Linked DNA regions of Homo sapiens: regions 2, 3, 4 and 5 are each linked to region 1. Evidence: promoter capture Hi-C in 16 types of primary human blood cells and fetal thymus (Javierre and others, 2016). All regions are on one chromosome and are shown on one strand. Each heading gives the region's core, a stretch centred on a gene start or on the middle of the fragment in contact. The rest is flanking DNA. Distances are from core to core; before and after follow the strand shown. Region 1 holds the start of LRRC1 (leucine rich repeat containing 1). Region 2 holds the start of LOC730101 (a long non-coding RNA gene). Region 3 overlaps PAQR8 (progestin and adipoQ receptor family member 8). Region 4 holds the start of MCM3 (minichromosome maintenance complex component 3). Region 5 holds the start of EFHC1 (EF-hand domain containing 1).

Evidence for each region. The method cuts DNA at HindIII sites, captures the fragments that hold promoters and counts their contacts. A CHiCAGO score of 5 or more calls a contact.
Region 2: a contact is called between a fragment that was not itself captured here and the fragment with the promoter of LRRC1 in region 1, in 1 of 17 cell types (total B cells). The highest score is 7.1, in total B cells.
Region 3: a fragment that was not itself captured here is called in contact with the fragment with the promoter of LRRC1 in region 1 in 1 of 17 cell types (fetal thymus); the score reaches 5.7 in fetal thymus.
Region 4: the fragment with the promoter of MCM3 here is called in contact with the fragment with the promoter of LRRC1 in region 1 in 2 of 17 cell types (total B cells and naive B cells); the score reaches 8.4 in total B cells.
Region 5: the fragment with the promoter of EFHC1 here is called in contact with the fragment with the promoter of LRRC1 in region 1 in 2 of 17 cell types (naive B cells and total B cells); the score reaches 6.7 in naive B cells.

What each region holds. Positions count from the first base shown.
Region 1 is chr6:53,793,642-53,796,341 of GRCh38, forward strand. It overlaps LRRC1 (leucine rich repeat containing 1), which reads left to right and starts at 1,364. Exons shown (of 14, transcript NM_018214.5): 1 at 1,364-1,774. The coding sequence starts at 1,616. LOC124901333 (a long non-coding RNA gene) reads right to left here and starts at 34. Exons shown (of 5, transcript XR_007059619.1): 1 at 1-34. RefSeq lists silencers at 55-184, 1,230-1,469 and an enhancer at 1,436-2,148. The HindIII fragment of the contact is 4,441 bases long and covers 1-2,679 here.
Region 2 is chr6:52,662,883-52,665,582 of GRCh38, forward strand. It overlaps LOC730101 (a long non-coding RNA gene), which reads left to right and starts at 1,519. Exons shown (of 3, transcript NR_024405.1): 1 at 1,519-2,537. RefSeq lists enhancers at 278-377, 1,309-1,603, 1,975-2,094 and a silencer at 1,309-1,603. The HindIII fragment of the contact is 1,656 bases long and covers 609-2,264 here.
Region 3 is chr6:52,364,502-52,367,256 of GRCh38, forward strand. The region is part of intron 1 of PAQR8 (progestin and adipoQ receptor family member 8); the gene reads left to right. Among named protein-coding and RNA genes, the nearest start is that of PAQR8, 3.7 kb to the left of the region's middle. The HindIII fragment of the contact is 1,048 bases long and covers 848-1,895 here.
Region 4 is chr6:52,283,303-52,286,002 of GRCh38, forward strand. It overlaps MCM3 (minichromosome maintenance complex component 3), which reads right to left and starts at 1,440. Exons shown (of 17, transcript NM_002388.6): 1 at 1,295-1,440; 2 at 1-104. The coding sequence starts at 1,372. RefSeq lists enhancers at 1,318-1,397, 1,718-1,917. The HindIII fragment of the contact is 4,216 bases long and covers 1-1,564 here.
Region 5 is chr6:52,418,972-52,421,671 of GRCh38, forward strand. EFHC1 (EF-hand domain containing 1) reads left to right here and starts at 1,371. Exons shown (of 11, transcript NM_018100.4): 1 at 1,371-1,502. The coding sequence starts at 1,440. LOC124901331 (a long non-coding RNA gene) reads right to left here and starts at 2,010. Exons shown (of 2, transcript XR_007059611.1): 1 at 1,238-2,010. RefSeq lists an enhancer at 1,340-1,931. The HindIII fragment of the contact is 6,560 bases long and covers 1-2,700 here.

The DNA.
Region 1 (2,700 bases), core at 114-2,613:
GGAGAGTCTATGGAGCCCATGGAGAGTCTAATGCAAAAACTAGTTTCCGACCAAACTTTGCCTTGGCCACTGAGCATGCTCAGCTTTGTCTTCTATAGAAAAGTGAACTCCGTGGCTCCAGATTTTAGCTATAGCAGCTGGAGGGCGGGAGTGAGTGTGGGAGAGCCAGCGTGGCAGCGGCCGCAGGTGGAAACCTGGAGTTTGAGTATGCTTGAAAGGGAAAGTGTGGAACGAAGGGGCGGCCGGGTGGGGAATCAGAGAAGCCCCCAAGGAAATGATTCATCATTGTGATTGACCTTGACTTTAGCAACCCTTCATTAAAGGAGAAAATTTGGTTATTCGGAGATGGGGACTGTGTTGCAAACAGTTACAGGCAAAGAGGGGCAGTTCAGGATTCCGGCCGTGGTCCGCAGGAATGAGTCGGGGCGAGGGAATGGTTGTTATAACCCAATAGTGAGCCTCCCCGGTCATCCGGGCTGGACGGGACTGGGGTTGTAGCAGAAAAGCAGGAGCTGTATGGAGGATGCTCACCTGGCAGCCTCGATCTGCCCCTCTTCCCTCGCTCCTCCCTCCGCACCAGCCACAGCTAGTTGTCAGGGGCCAACATCTGGGCCGGGCTGGAACTGGCTCAGAAACTCGCGTTTGCCTGCTTATTTCTGCAGCTGGGCTCCTTGCCAGGTGCAACCACATCTATGAGAATCTCGCAGACTCTCAGACTCCTATGCCTTTGCTGGTACAGGGAGGAGGATTTACTATCACTCACTGCATAAACCATGATCACCAGAGATGTGCTCCCAAGTTACAAAGCCTGCAGGCGGTGCCCGAGGACCAGAGGGCCGGGCGCGGCCAGCTCACACTTCTGGGGCAGCCGTGAGCAGCGGGCACACGGGCAGCCACGAAAGCAGCAGCGAGGGTGGTGCAAACACCTCAAAACTACACCGAATCCAGTAGCGCCTGGCGCCCCCGGCGCGCAAGGTACGCTTTGGGGCGGTCCTGTGTGACCCCGGAAGAGAAAGTTGTTTTGGGGAAGGGGAGCAAGGAGAGGAGTGCGAGTTAAATAAAACTAAATATCAAAGTTGTTCTGCTCTGCTCAGGCCGCCTCTACTCCGCCTCATCTTTGTCCCAAGTCCTTTCACAGTCTGCCTTCCTCAAACGGCCCGATGCGCCCCCGTCTTTGCCGGAGTAAGCAGACCGCCAGCAGCCGGCCCGCAGGTCAGTCGACCCTCTCTGGATGCAGGTCGCCGGGAAAACCCGGAGCGGAGCATCCCTCGGGCCGGGAAACGCCCTCGGCGCGCACCCACTGGCGCGCATGCTCAGTCCGCGCGGCGGCTGCGAGTAGGAAGCTCCGCGCGGCGGCGGGGGCGGCGACGGCGACTGGCGGGTGGGAGTGGAGGCACCGGCTGGCGGGCGGGGGTACAGGGACGGGGCAGGGGCTCCCGCTCCAGGTTCCTTGAAGCACTTCCGACCGCGAAGCCCGGCGCGAGAAGCGAGCTAACCCAAGAGCCAACAACGAGCGCGGAGAGGGCAGCGGACTGAGCGGAGCCGCCGGCCAGAGCGGGCTCGGAGCCCGGGTCTCCGCCGCTCGGGACCCGGCTAGGCGGCGGCGGGGGCGGCGATGTTCCACTGCATCCCCCTGTGGCGGTGCAACCGTCATGTGGAGAGCATCGACAAGCGCCACTGCTCGCTGGTCTACGTCCCCGAGGAGATCTACCGCTATGCCCGGAGCCTGGAGGAGCTGCTGCTGGACGCCAACCAGCTCCGCGAGCTGCCCGAGGTAAGGGTCCGGCCTCACCTGAGCGCTCTGCCCGCTCGTCTGCTGTCCCTTCCGCTCCCATCCTCTCTCGTCCCCTCTTCCATCTCCGGGTCCGGCGTGAAGGAACCTTCCCTCTTTTATGCATTCACCTGCTTCTTTCTCCCCCTGTCTCTTTACTTCCATCCTTTCCCAGTAAAAGTTCCTTTTCATTTTATTCAAAGTGACCGGATATTTTGCGCGTAGTCACTGGGGCTCGTGCTATTGGAGAAGCGTTCTGGACTGTTAAGTAACTTAGATCCATGCTAGGTACTGACACCTGGCACTTGTGCCCGGTCAGGTGAGAAGCCGGGTGATTCGGGCTGTTTCCATCTGGAAGCTACAGAGCACTGCATCCTCCCCCCCTCCACTCCCCGGGGTCGTTCCCCCACCAAGGGCCGGGCGCGCCTCTCCTTTAGTCAAGGCATGTCCCGGAGGACCTTGTGACCTGGGCAGCGCTCAAGCGGGCCGCACTATCTCGGCATCTTGGGAGGAATGAGGAATGTGCTCCGTGCTTTATCGCGGGTGGGCTTGGCCGGCTGGCCTGCGGTGGCTGCGGGGGTGGACGCGAGATGGGCGCAGGGGAGAGCTGGGCCTGGAGCGCTAGGGGCAGGTGCCCAGATGCCGGCCGCCCGGGCCTTGCCTACGTGGACCTGTTGCGTGGTGGGAGCTGCGGTGAACGTCAGCGGAGGCTCTGCCCGCGGGCCAGCCTTGCAGCCGCCTTTCCCGGAGCGGGCACAGTCGTCCTGCTGACTTTCTCTCCTTGCAGTGATGCGTTATCTCTTCAGAGTTGTTTATGTAAATTGATCACTCCATTGCCGCCGAACTTGTCAAGCGACATGTGCTGATGGTGCTTTGACCGAGAGTAGGGGTACAGCGAACTTCTTTCAAGCTTGCCTCGGGAACTTAGC
Region 2 (2,700 bases), core at 187-2,686, 1.1 Mb before region 1:
GTTGCAGTGAGCTGAGATCGCACCACTGCACTTCAACCTGGGAGACTGAGTGAGACTCCGTTCTCAAAACAAAAACAAAAACAAAAAACAAGCAAAAAGCCTGGATCTGACACTTCTTAGCTGTTTGCATGACCTTTGGTGAGTTGCCTCAGTTTCCACCTCTGTAAGGTAGGGAGGATAGAGTATCTACCTCAAGGGTTGTTGTGAAGATTAAGAGTTGATACTTGTAAAATGCTTAGAATAGTTCCTGGCACACAATAGGTACTCATTAAGTGTTTGTTGTTTGTTGTTGTTGTTATTGTAACCATTATTGCTTATAGGAAAGTCCCTTGTCTGGGAAACCCTCGGTCCTGGTTTTAGCATGGAAAGTCCCATGGCCTTGGTAAAAGTTCAAAACGGGTCCATATGGCAGGCTGAGGACAGAGAGTCAGCCTGGCGCCCTGGTGGTCACTCTCCACTGTCCTGCATCTTTTTCAGAGCTCACCTCTGAAAAACTGCCCCTTACTCTTTGTAATTGCCACCCTCCCAGTATTTCAGGACACTGTACTACTTAGCCAACAGGGTGTACAGAAATCATATACCTTTTTCGCACATTCTTCTATGTACTAAGCTTGTCCAACCCGCCTTATTCTGTTGTCGTTGTTGTTCTGTTTTGTTTTGTTTTAGGCTTTTAGCAGCCTGAAGCCGTGGTTTTTAGTTTCTGTCTCTAATGAAGCTGAAAAGAGGGATGAGGAAGGGGCTTTACTGGCCCAGCCAGAAACAGAAACTAAGAACCTGTGACTGTATTCAGTCTCTTTAACATCCCAGATTGTAGACCATCACTCTAGTTTCCCCACTTCCTGTTAACTTTTATAACTATCTCTGAACTTTAACAGAACACTATTTTGTGTTTGCAAATAACGTGCTAAAACGCCTTTCCTAGCCGAATCAAACCCTAGCATCTAGTGCCCCCTGCTGCCCTTTCATAGGAAAGGCAAGAAGGATGAAAGTTTGATTCACTGACAGTAAAATTTTTACTTGTCGAGATTTCAATAGGAATCGGTATAAATATCCTAAATTATATTCACGTTTCATCTTTTCTTTGAACCTACTCCTTGACTTGGTTTTTTGTCTTGCCTTTGCGAACATTCATTTTTGCTTAATTATATTTTTCTCATTTATATTTGCTTTCCTTGAATTTCCTTTTGGTTGTTTTGCTATTGCTATTTGAACTTGTTTTGTCTTGGCTCTTTCTCACTTTGGCCATGCCTTGACACAGACGCGCGGGGTCGAGAGGCTGCGGGCTCGGCGGGCGGAGGGCGCATGGGAGCCTCTTGGCCCTGGACCTGCCCCTGCAATCCTTCCGCGGGATCTCTTGGACCCTCTCCAGGGTCCTGGCTCTGAGACGTTGCTAGAGGACAAATCCGCGGGATTTAGAGCGCGGCCAATGGGACAGCGGTGCCTGGCTGAGTGTCAGGCAAAACTAGCCAATAAACATGTAGTTTGGGCAAGGTGGGTCCGTCCCCTAACTCGGACCTTATAAAGCGCGCCCGCTGCTCCCACAAAGCCGGGCTGTCCCAGGCTGAGGCGGTTGCTCCCCTGCCGGGTGTGTTAGAAGCAAGTTAGAGGAAGAAGGTCTTGGGGACTACGGGCGCCACCGAGAACCCATACGAGGCAGCCGCCGACGGCGGGTCGCCGGGGCGGGGCCAGAACGGCGCCAAGGCCAACCAGAACGGCGGCAAGAACTAGGGGGACGCGGGGCAGGTGCTGTGGGAGTTGGCTGGACCTGTGGGATCGACGTCTGCGCCGTCCAGGAGCCGCCCAGGGGAGAGAGCGGAGACTCGGGAGGAGGATGTGCGCTCCGACCCGGGCAAGGCTTCCCATCCCTCCCTTCCTCTTCTCTCCTTCCCTCCACCTGGGCTCGGAGTCAGGATCTGACCGCGGGCTCTGCCCAGGAAGACCGAGTTCCTTGAGAGCGACACCTAAGCGCCGGGGAAGACAGGGATAGAAGAGACGACAGCCCTTTGATAAGAGGGTTTTTAGACTAACTTCCACCTGTGACGAGTGCATGGGGCCTGCGCCCTGAGAGGTTGCCTTTCCTTTTCCTCTCCCACCCTGGGGGTTTGTGGTGATGTTAAGTTCTGTTAGGACCAAGGTGGATCTCAGTAAGGAGGTAGAGTAGATTTGTGAACAGCTGTCGGAGGTAGAATCTTTGCAGACCCAGAGTGGGTGGGTGTAGACACTTTGCCATGGGTGGTAGCTTTATTTGTAATCCTCCCAGTGAAAGCTTTGGGAAATCCAGCCCTCCCAAACTCTTGCCTTTCTTGTAAGACTTTCTAAGCGCATGGCTTTGTCGTAAGACTTCTCGTGGCCATGTGTCTCACCCTACCGTTCGTCTCACCAATGAACCAGAGCTGGGATACCAGCAAAAAGGACCCAAAAGACTGTTTCACCACAATTGAAGAGGTCGTGGACCATCCCCCAAAATGAATCCCAACACTGGAAGACCAAGAGGGTTGACGTTTGCTATCTTGAAAGCTGCAGCCCCCGTAGAGAAGGTAAGCTGTGTATTCCATCAAAGGTCTGTGTGTGCAGGATTGCATTTCCAAGAGAAGGCATTCCTGGATCATGATCATTTTGTCTGAGCTGCATGTGGCCAAGTGCACTGGGGGAAGCAGAGTTTAGGAACTTGTTCCTGTATGGATTAAGTGGGAAGTGAAA
Region 3 (2,755 bases), core at 122-2,621, 1.4 Mb before region 1:
TTTCTCCCCTTCAAAAGCCTGCTCTTGGCAAGCTGTGTACTAATTCTAGTGATGCTGTCACTACTGAGAATAATTTTGGAGCTCCTGCTTTGGAGTTGCCTTCCGAGTTTGCAACACATTTCCTGATTGCCTCAGTGGTGGCAAACCTTCCTCAGCTGGGAAACAGCCAGGCACTGTGCGGGGCCAACTTGGGCTTCCGAGGTGGGGAATCGAGGTTGTCAATAAGTATGCTCATTAAAGTAATGAAAATTCTCTTGAAAGACTGGCAGTTCTAAAAGGGGCATTTAGTAATGGCATGGAGTATGTATTTAGGATTGGAAGGAATTACAGTTGGTCCCTGAATAACACCGGGGTTAGGGGCTCCCATCATCTCCACAGTGGAAATTTTGAGTACAACATTTAACTCCTCAAAAACTTAACTACTTTGAAGCACAACCTTCATTTTGGTGTTTATGCTCTGGTATGTATGTAAAGTAATTGGTCCTGTCACTTTATTGTTATAGCTTATGGCTTATTGGGCTAGAAAAAGTAAGCCTTTCTTTGCCCCTCCTGATACTTGTTACTAGGCAGTCTCTGTCATTGTGGATTTTTACAGAAAGCAAAACAAAAATACAAAAGACTTGTTGTCTCACCAAAAAAAAAAAGGTACCCAGAAAGCCATTTGCCCCAGCTGTAGGTAATGCCTGGTGCTTGATTTTTGATGTGAAAGGATCCACAGAAGTAAAGGGAAGAGAATGATTTCTGAACATTCATTTCAACTTTGGGATTTCATGGCACACAGTAAAAAATGTACTGAACATATCCCTTTTTAAAATTCGCATTTTTTTTTTCAGGTTGTGTTGCATAAAGCTTCATACAGCCACAGCTTGAATCTTGATCTAGCTGTGGTTTGGGGCAAGTTGTTTCATCTCTTTTGGCCTCAGTTTTCTTAAAATGAAGATATTAATGAGTATGTACCTCATGGGGCTGTGATGAAGATGAAATAACATTGATGCGTGTAGAACACTTGAGTTCGGTGCCGGACACATCATGAGTGCTCAACAGAGTCTACTTATTCTTGTTAGGAATATTATTTATTGATAGTCTTATGTTAAAATTCCTTTGAAGCCATGTGGAAATTTATCATTTCCCAGGTAATGATATTCCCTTCAGTTAGGTTTTGCAACTAACTACAAATAGAACATTTTGGTTTTTGCCCTCCTGGTCTTTTAAGAGTTTTTAAAGGGTAACCTGAAAAGCAACGACAATTAGTTATTTTTTATTTATTCAGAAACGAGGAAATACAGACTCCAAATAAGTGGAGTCAGTGCTCCCAGTTACTTTCTTTTGAATTCAGATTTTTTTTTTAAATGAGCATTCCTGTTATGATTGTATATTATGTATAACAGTTTGGTGTGGTAAGGCAAATCTGAAAGAAAAAAGTTTAAAAGCCTCTTCTCTAATTTTTTTCCCTTCATCCAATGAAAATATTATTCTAACGAAACAGCTACAGTTCTCTTGGCACGTATTGAAAGAGACGATTCTGGTAAACATTCCCTTCATTCCAAATGTGAGTTTTGCTCTGCTGTGTTTTTTAAACAATAGGGAAGAATAGCCTGGCACTGAAATCTCAGCTCTTCTGTAAATGTCAACACTAGTTTTTTTTCAAGTTTATAAATTTTATTTTATATATATATGTACATATATTAGAAAGATGGGAAAGTTTCATCTTAATTTTAATCAGATGATTAGGGGCTGCTATGAAATAGTTAATGTTTCATGAAATGTTGACCATTTAGTGAGAATTCTCTGTTCTAGGCAAGCAAGTGCTGGAGATGGAGAGGCTTGAGACACAGGCTTTGCCCTTCAGAAGTTCATTCACATCATGTGCTCTCTTACAATGATGCAGGAACAAAAGCTTCTTCTCCTAATGGCCTGTGGAGCTAAGAATTCATATGGATTTTACTACATGATATTTTCCTTCAATTTCTCAAAGAAGGGTAAATAGGTGGATCTCTCAATAGTGTTCATATTTTTGAGGTGGATTAACTCTTTCAAAATTAGATCCCAATATGTACTCAGAGGCCATAAAAGGAGAAAATAGCTATAATTAGTGAATTACAAAGTATATCTGCAGGATGGGGTGGTATTATTGCTATACGAAACTTTCCTGGAATGTTGTGTTTGGTTTTTGCTCTGTCTTCTGAGTAGCGGTTTATGTACTTGTAAAGGACCAGGAAACAATATACATTGTGGCTTAGACTGGAGCCATGATTCTTTTTTTTTTGAGATGAAGTCTCCCTCTGTCACCCAGGCTGGAGTGCAATGGCGCAATCTCGGCTCACTGCAACCTCCATCTCCTGGGTTCAAGCAATTATCCTGCCTCAGCCTCCTGAGTAGCTGGGATTGCAGGCGCGCACCACCACACCCAGCTAATTTTTGTATTTTTGTAATTTTTGACCACCATGTTGGTCAGGCTGGTCTCGAACTCCTGACCTCGTGATCTGCCCATCTTGGCCTCCCAAAGTGCTGGGATTACAGGCGTAAACCACTGTGCCCAGCCTGGAGCTGTGATTCTTAATGGGGAGAAGTGGGTGGTGAATTTGCCCCTTTCCCCCAGAGGATGAAATTTGGTGGTGTCTGGAGACATTTTTGATTGTCATACCTGGAGGGGGAGGGATGTTACTGGCATCTAATGAGTGGAGTCCAGAGATGCTGCTAACCATCCTAAAATGCACAGGACAGCCCCGCACAACAAACAGTTATCTGGTTCAAA
Region 4 (2,700 bases), core at 190-2,689, 1.5 Mb before region 1:
CTCTTCTCGTTTTTCCTGCGCAGGTCATTCACATTGACAATCAGCCGGTATTGGTTGTCACTGATCAGCTCCCGAACTTTGCTCTGATAAATTCCCTGGTCTTCCTGCAAAACAGCCACCACATATCACCATAGCCACAAATTTAAAAACAATGTTTCTAAACAGAAGTAGTTCTCATAGCCAGATAGCTAAGTCAATCTCTGCAGCAGAGCTGAATCCCCAGTAAGTATGTGCTCATCAATTTCTCCCTTTCATTCACTGTTTTTAGATTCGAAATAACACCCTAAGAGGGGACTATAAGAATTATAATGACTTCCTCAAGGTCCATGCTGTTATTCCCATCATCATGGACAACTTTTCTGCATGCTGTAATTTCTGTCTTTAGTGGAGAATTAAAATGAGCTCATGAGAAGTCTAAATGGACAGTAAGTGCAAACTTTGTTAAAATGTTAAGTTAAACCTAGCAATGTGAATGTTAAAGGTAACAACGTGAATAGATGGATATGTTGTTTCACTGTAGTAATCATTTCACCATGTATATCAAAACATGTGCACTTCAAATATATACAATAAAAATGTAAATAAAACAGACTCTTAATAGTCACATTAAAATGGCTTTTCATTTAAGAATTATGTAAAAAGTAATATTTTTTCCAATCATCTCTATAATACGGAAAGGGTTCTCATACCCCGACCTAAAGGAATAGAGAATCTCAGCTATTTGGTCACATCATCAACCCTTCAAGATGGTTTTTTCAACATTCTATGGCTTTAAGTCTTGGGTTGCACATAAAATCCCCTTGGCCTGCACACAAAACACTTTTTATCTGCATCTTAGTTGGTATTGAAAAAGAATGCAGCCGAATTATGGAGTCTTTTCCTCCAGGTAAAACGTCAGTCCCTAAAATCTGAGCACTCTGCAACGCGGCTGGTCACTATAGCCCTAGGGCAGCCCCTCCCCCACAGTCTCCTCAAATCAAGAGAGAGCAGTGAAATGCAAAAGGCCGAGGTGGGCTTTGCCAATCTGCTTGCACTTAATGGGAACCTGTCGCCTTTTGCGCGCCCGGACCATCGCTTGTACTTAAGAGAAAGCTGGCTTCCTAAGAGTTCACTTATCGAACACAAACTAGCGAGTCCGGCGTTGAGAAGTTACAAGATTGGGGCTGGAGGCTCGGGCCCGGCAGGCTCCGCTGCGGCACACGGTCTGGAGGTCTGGCGGGCCTCTGGCTTCCCGGCCGGGCCGCGTCCGCAGGGGCTCCGAGCGCTAGAGCCCGCGCGCCGGCGCCTCCCTCACCTCGTCGTCCAGGAAGTCCAGGTAATCTCTCTGAGCCTCCCGCAGCTCCACATCGTCCAGCACCACGGTACCCGCCATGCCCGCTGCCAAAGAACTACCTCCACCAAAGTCGCGTGGAGGTTCCCAGGATGACTCCACCCCGGCGCGAAAACTTCCGAACTCTTCCCGCCACCAAAGGTTACCTCGAGGAAGAGGCGGGGACCTTGGGAGCATATAAGCATTATGATTGGCTGAGTTCTCTGAGGTCGGACTAGCGACTGTCCAATCAAAAGCTTCTTCTTCTTCGGGTTTTCCGCTGCGCGCCCCGCGGTGGCGGGAAACGTACCATCCGGGATTCTCTGTTCCTCCCCTCCCTCCGCCTCACTCACTGACGAGCAAACTGACCAATAGGGCTGAGAGGAGGCTCACAGAGGCTGGTCATTGAGCAGCTGGAGGGGACAGGCTGGCGAGAGGGAAAGCATTGCGTTCTGGGAGTTGTAGTGTTCTCCCTCCTTTCCGGATGTTTTTGCAGGGTTTTTCAAGCTGCAGAACTTTTGACCCGATGCAACGACCAAATTCAGAGGATGGTGCTTTATAACGCAGGGAGATGAAAACATAAAAGCAAATCATTTTTAAGATATATCCAAATCAGAACTGCCCTCCAGTGGCATCCTAGTGTAAAAGTGGATTTTGAGAATCTATAGGATAGAATATAGAACTACAGTACCTTAGGGAAAGATTAGTTAAAAACCCATTTGCTATCTGATACCGTTGCCTGACGAACTCCATAAAGACATCGCCGCAGAGAAGGATGAAGTGAAAAAAAAAATCTGTGTTTACCCTGCCCCCTAGAGACTTCATCGTGTGTTATACAAATTTTGGAAACCGTTACTACTCCATCTTACTTAATAACAGGTAAATTAAAGGCTTTCTGGTCTTATAAAAAGATCACAAGATCCTTTTAAGTAACTTAGCTTACTGAACGATCAGCTCAAGAGGGGAAAAAGTGTTTCACGTCACTTTGATTAAATATCAATCAGTAACTAACAGCAAATCTGAAACCATAATGACTAAAAGATCATCGCACGTCCAAATTTGTATGTTTGTTTTCAGTCCGTCGTGGTTGGCTTTTTCTTATATTTCTAGTTTTATTTTGAGATATAATGTATATACAGTAAAATGCACAAATCTTAAGTGTACAGCTCAGTGAATTTTTACCTGTGCTTACACCCATGTAACCACTCTGCACAATAAAGAGCAAGCCCATTGCCCCAGCATGTGTTTTTAATTTTACTGAACAAGAAGCTGAAATACTGGATTGCCCAACATCAGACATTTGATAATTCTTTATCTGAAATTTCAGCCAACTATTAGCTTATGTTTTAAAGTCTTCAGGACTCACTATGTACTGATAAATATTCTAAGAA
Region 5 (2,700 bases), core at 121-2,620, 1.4 Mb before region 1:
GTTACAAAAATCAGATTCCTGGCCTCCATGTCAGACCTAATGAATCCAAATCTCTCGGCACGTGGGTTTTGATTACTTTTTATTTTTAAGCTCCTCAGCAATGATGGATAGCTTTCTCCCCCCCCCCCCAAAAAAAATGTTTCAGGAATAGGATTATGTTTCTTTTAAGAAAAAATAATTTAAGCAAGTTTTGTAAAAAGCATCAAAGGCTATACCTATGATGCTGACAATATTTCACCTCACTTATCTGCTTCTTTCCCAAGACTTAGTCTTTCTCTTTGAAGGAGCTGTGTTCCTCCTAGTGGTTCTGATCTTTTTCATTGCAGCTGCAGGTACAAACGAGGGATTGAGGTGACCACCCTTCAACCTGCAGCTCTTCAGTCAACAAAAATCAAGTACCTATCAGAGTGCACCCTGCCCTGCAGCACATATTCAAGGCTTTCCCTACAAAAACAAAGGTGTTTAACCGAAGGGATTGATGGTAGAATAAAGAGAGCTGGGCGCGGTGGCTCATGCCTGTAATCCCAGCACTTTGGGAGGCGAGGTGGGCGGATCGCTTGACCCCAGGAATTCGAGACCAGCTTGGGCAACATAGTGGGACACTATCTCTACGGAAGGAGGGAAGTAGGGAAGGAAGGAAGGAAGCAAGGAGGGAAGGAGGGACGGAGGGAAGGAGGGAAGGAAGGAAGGAAAAAGAAAAGAAAGGAAAGAAAGAAAGGAAAGAAAGAAAGAGAAAGATTGATTTTAAAAAAGAGTTAAAAGGGGAAAAATACAATGTGGCAGTGGGAGAATTAAGGATGAGATGATTGCATTAGTTCATTGACCATCCCTGAGCAACAGAAACACAATCATGGGTAATCCTCGGCCCCTGCCTACAAGAAGCATGGGTCTAGTTTAGTAGCACTGCCAACTGGACCGACCATTTACACTTCTGTGTGAAATGGGGCAGAGGGGGGAGAAAAGAGTGCCTGAGCTCACAGCGTTGGCGGGGCGCAGTGAGGTCCGCCAGGACTAGGTGGAAGGAGAGAAGGAACGTCCCTCTCTGCAACTCATCTAAGGGCCTGCTCGGACCCCGGATCTCACAGCGAGAACTACCGCCTCGCTACACCCGCCTTTCCCCGCGCCACCCAACAGCTCCCACGTCTCATCCTCCGGGAGCGGGGCGGGGCGAAGCGGAAGAGGAGGGGCCGACACAACCACGCCCACTAGCCGCGCTCCAAGGCCGCGGCCCACTTACCGCGAGAACGCGGAGTCCTGCGGATGGCGCACGCGCAAACCTCCTGTGATGCCTGCGCCTCCTGGCCCCGCCTTCCGCTCGTGGGAGTTCCGGATGTTTAGCGTTACCATGGATCCTGGAGGTGCCCGCGAACACTGCTTGTCGCCTGGGCAACCGGAGAGGACGAAGCAGGACCTAGGTGGCGGCGGTGGTACCGGCTGCAATGGTGTCCAATCCCGTGCATGGCTTGCCCTTTCTTCCGGGCACGTCCTTTAAGGACTCTACGGTGAGCAGTTATCTGCCAGACTCCCACCTGTCCCCACCTTCCAGCAGCCCAGGAGGTTTCCCCGCTCAGTGCACCTCCATTCCCCTCCACTCAAGTCTGTCTTCTCTCCAAACACGTCTTCTGTCCTGACCCTGTTCTTTATTCTGGGCCGAACTTCTGCCGTTCTTCCCTAGCCATCCTCATCCCCTCTCTCCGATCCTTTGCCCTCCGCCTCATCCCTCTCTAGTTTTTTCCCACTCCATCTTGGCAGTGTGTTGGCGCCTTCATTCTCATCCCGTTAGCCGCGTTCTTTCTTACGGCCCTGCTCCTCCAAGCCCCTGCCTCTTGTCCCTTTAGATCACTGTTTCCCCCACCCTACTCCCAACCTATCTCTGGGCCCTCTCCCTAGCTCGTTCTCTCACATCATAACCTGTCTCCGTCCATCGCCGCCCTTAAAACCCCCCGCCACTATGCACCTTCAACCTCATTCCCACAGGTCCGTCATTCCCGCCCCACCTCTTCCTCTTCTGAATCCTGTACCCGGTAGTATCTCCCACTCCCAGCTCCATTTCCTGTTTTGTATGTATATCGATTCCGCTCCTCTTCTTTCCGCCAGGTCTTTTTCCTTTCTTCTTTATGCTTGCATCCAACCCCATTCTTTTTTCTCCATCTTCTACATTTTCCACAATTTAGTCCCATCCTCTCCCCATTCCTTTCTTTCTCCGTTGCGGGTTTTCCCCAAAACTTGCTCACCTTCCTCCCAAAGCATCTTTCCCTGCTTTGTAAGAGATATTCCTTTCCAGTTCCCTCAAGAATTGATTAGTTGCTGTTTATTCTTCCCCGGCCCTGTTCTTTTTATTCTAACGTTTTTGTAAAAAGATTCCTGTTTAGATTTTGTTTTGCTCCTTCCCCAACCTTGTGTTTTTATTTGCATTTTCTAGACAAAATTTTTTAAAAAGTAGCAGCAGCTTGGATTCTTTTTTTTTTTTAAACTCTTGCCACAGTTTAGCTCTTAAAATTATTTGGTTTGTTTTAATTCTGACAGGGCTACTGAAATGTATGTGCTGAAAAATCAATAATGAGATTCAGTAGACTGATCATCATAGATGAGCTAACAGTAGTTTATGTTTATATAGTTTAATACTTTAAACTCTTGCCTTCCTCTCCAGCTTCACAAAGTTAAAATATTTTGTCAATTTATTTTCTTTGGAAGAATCAA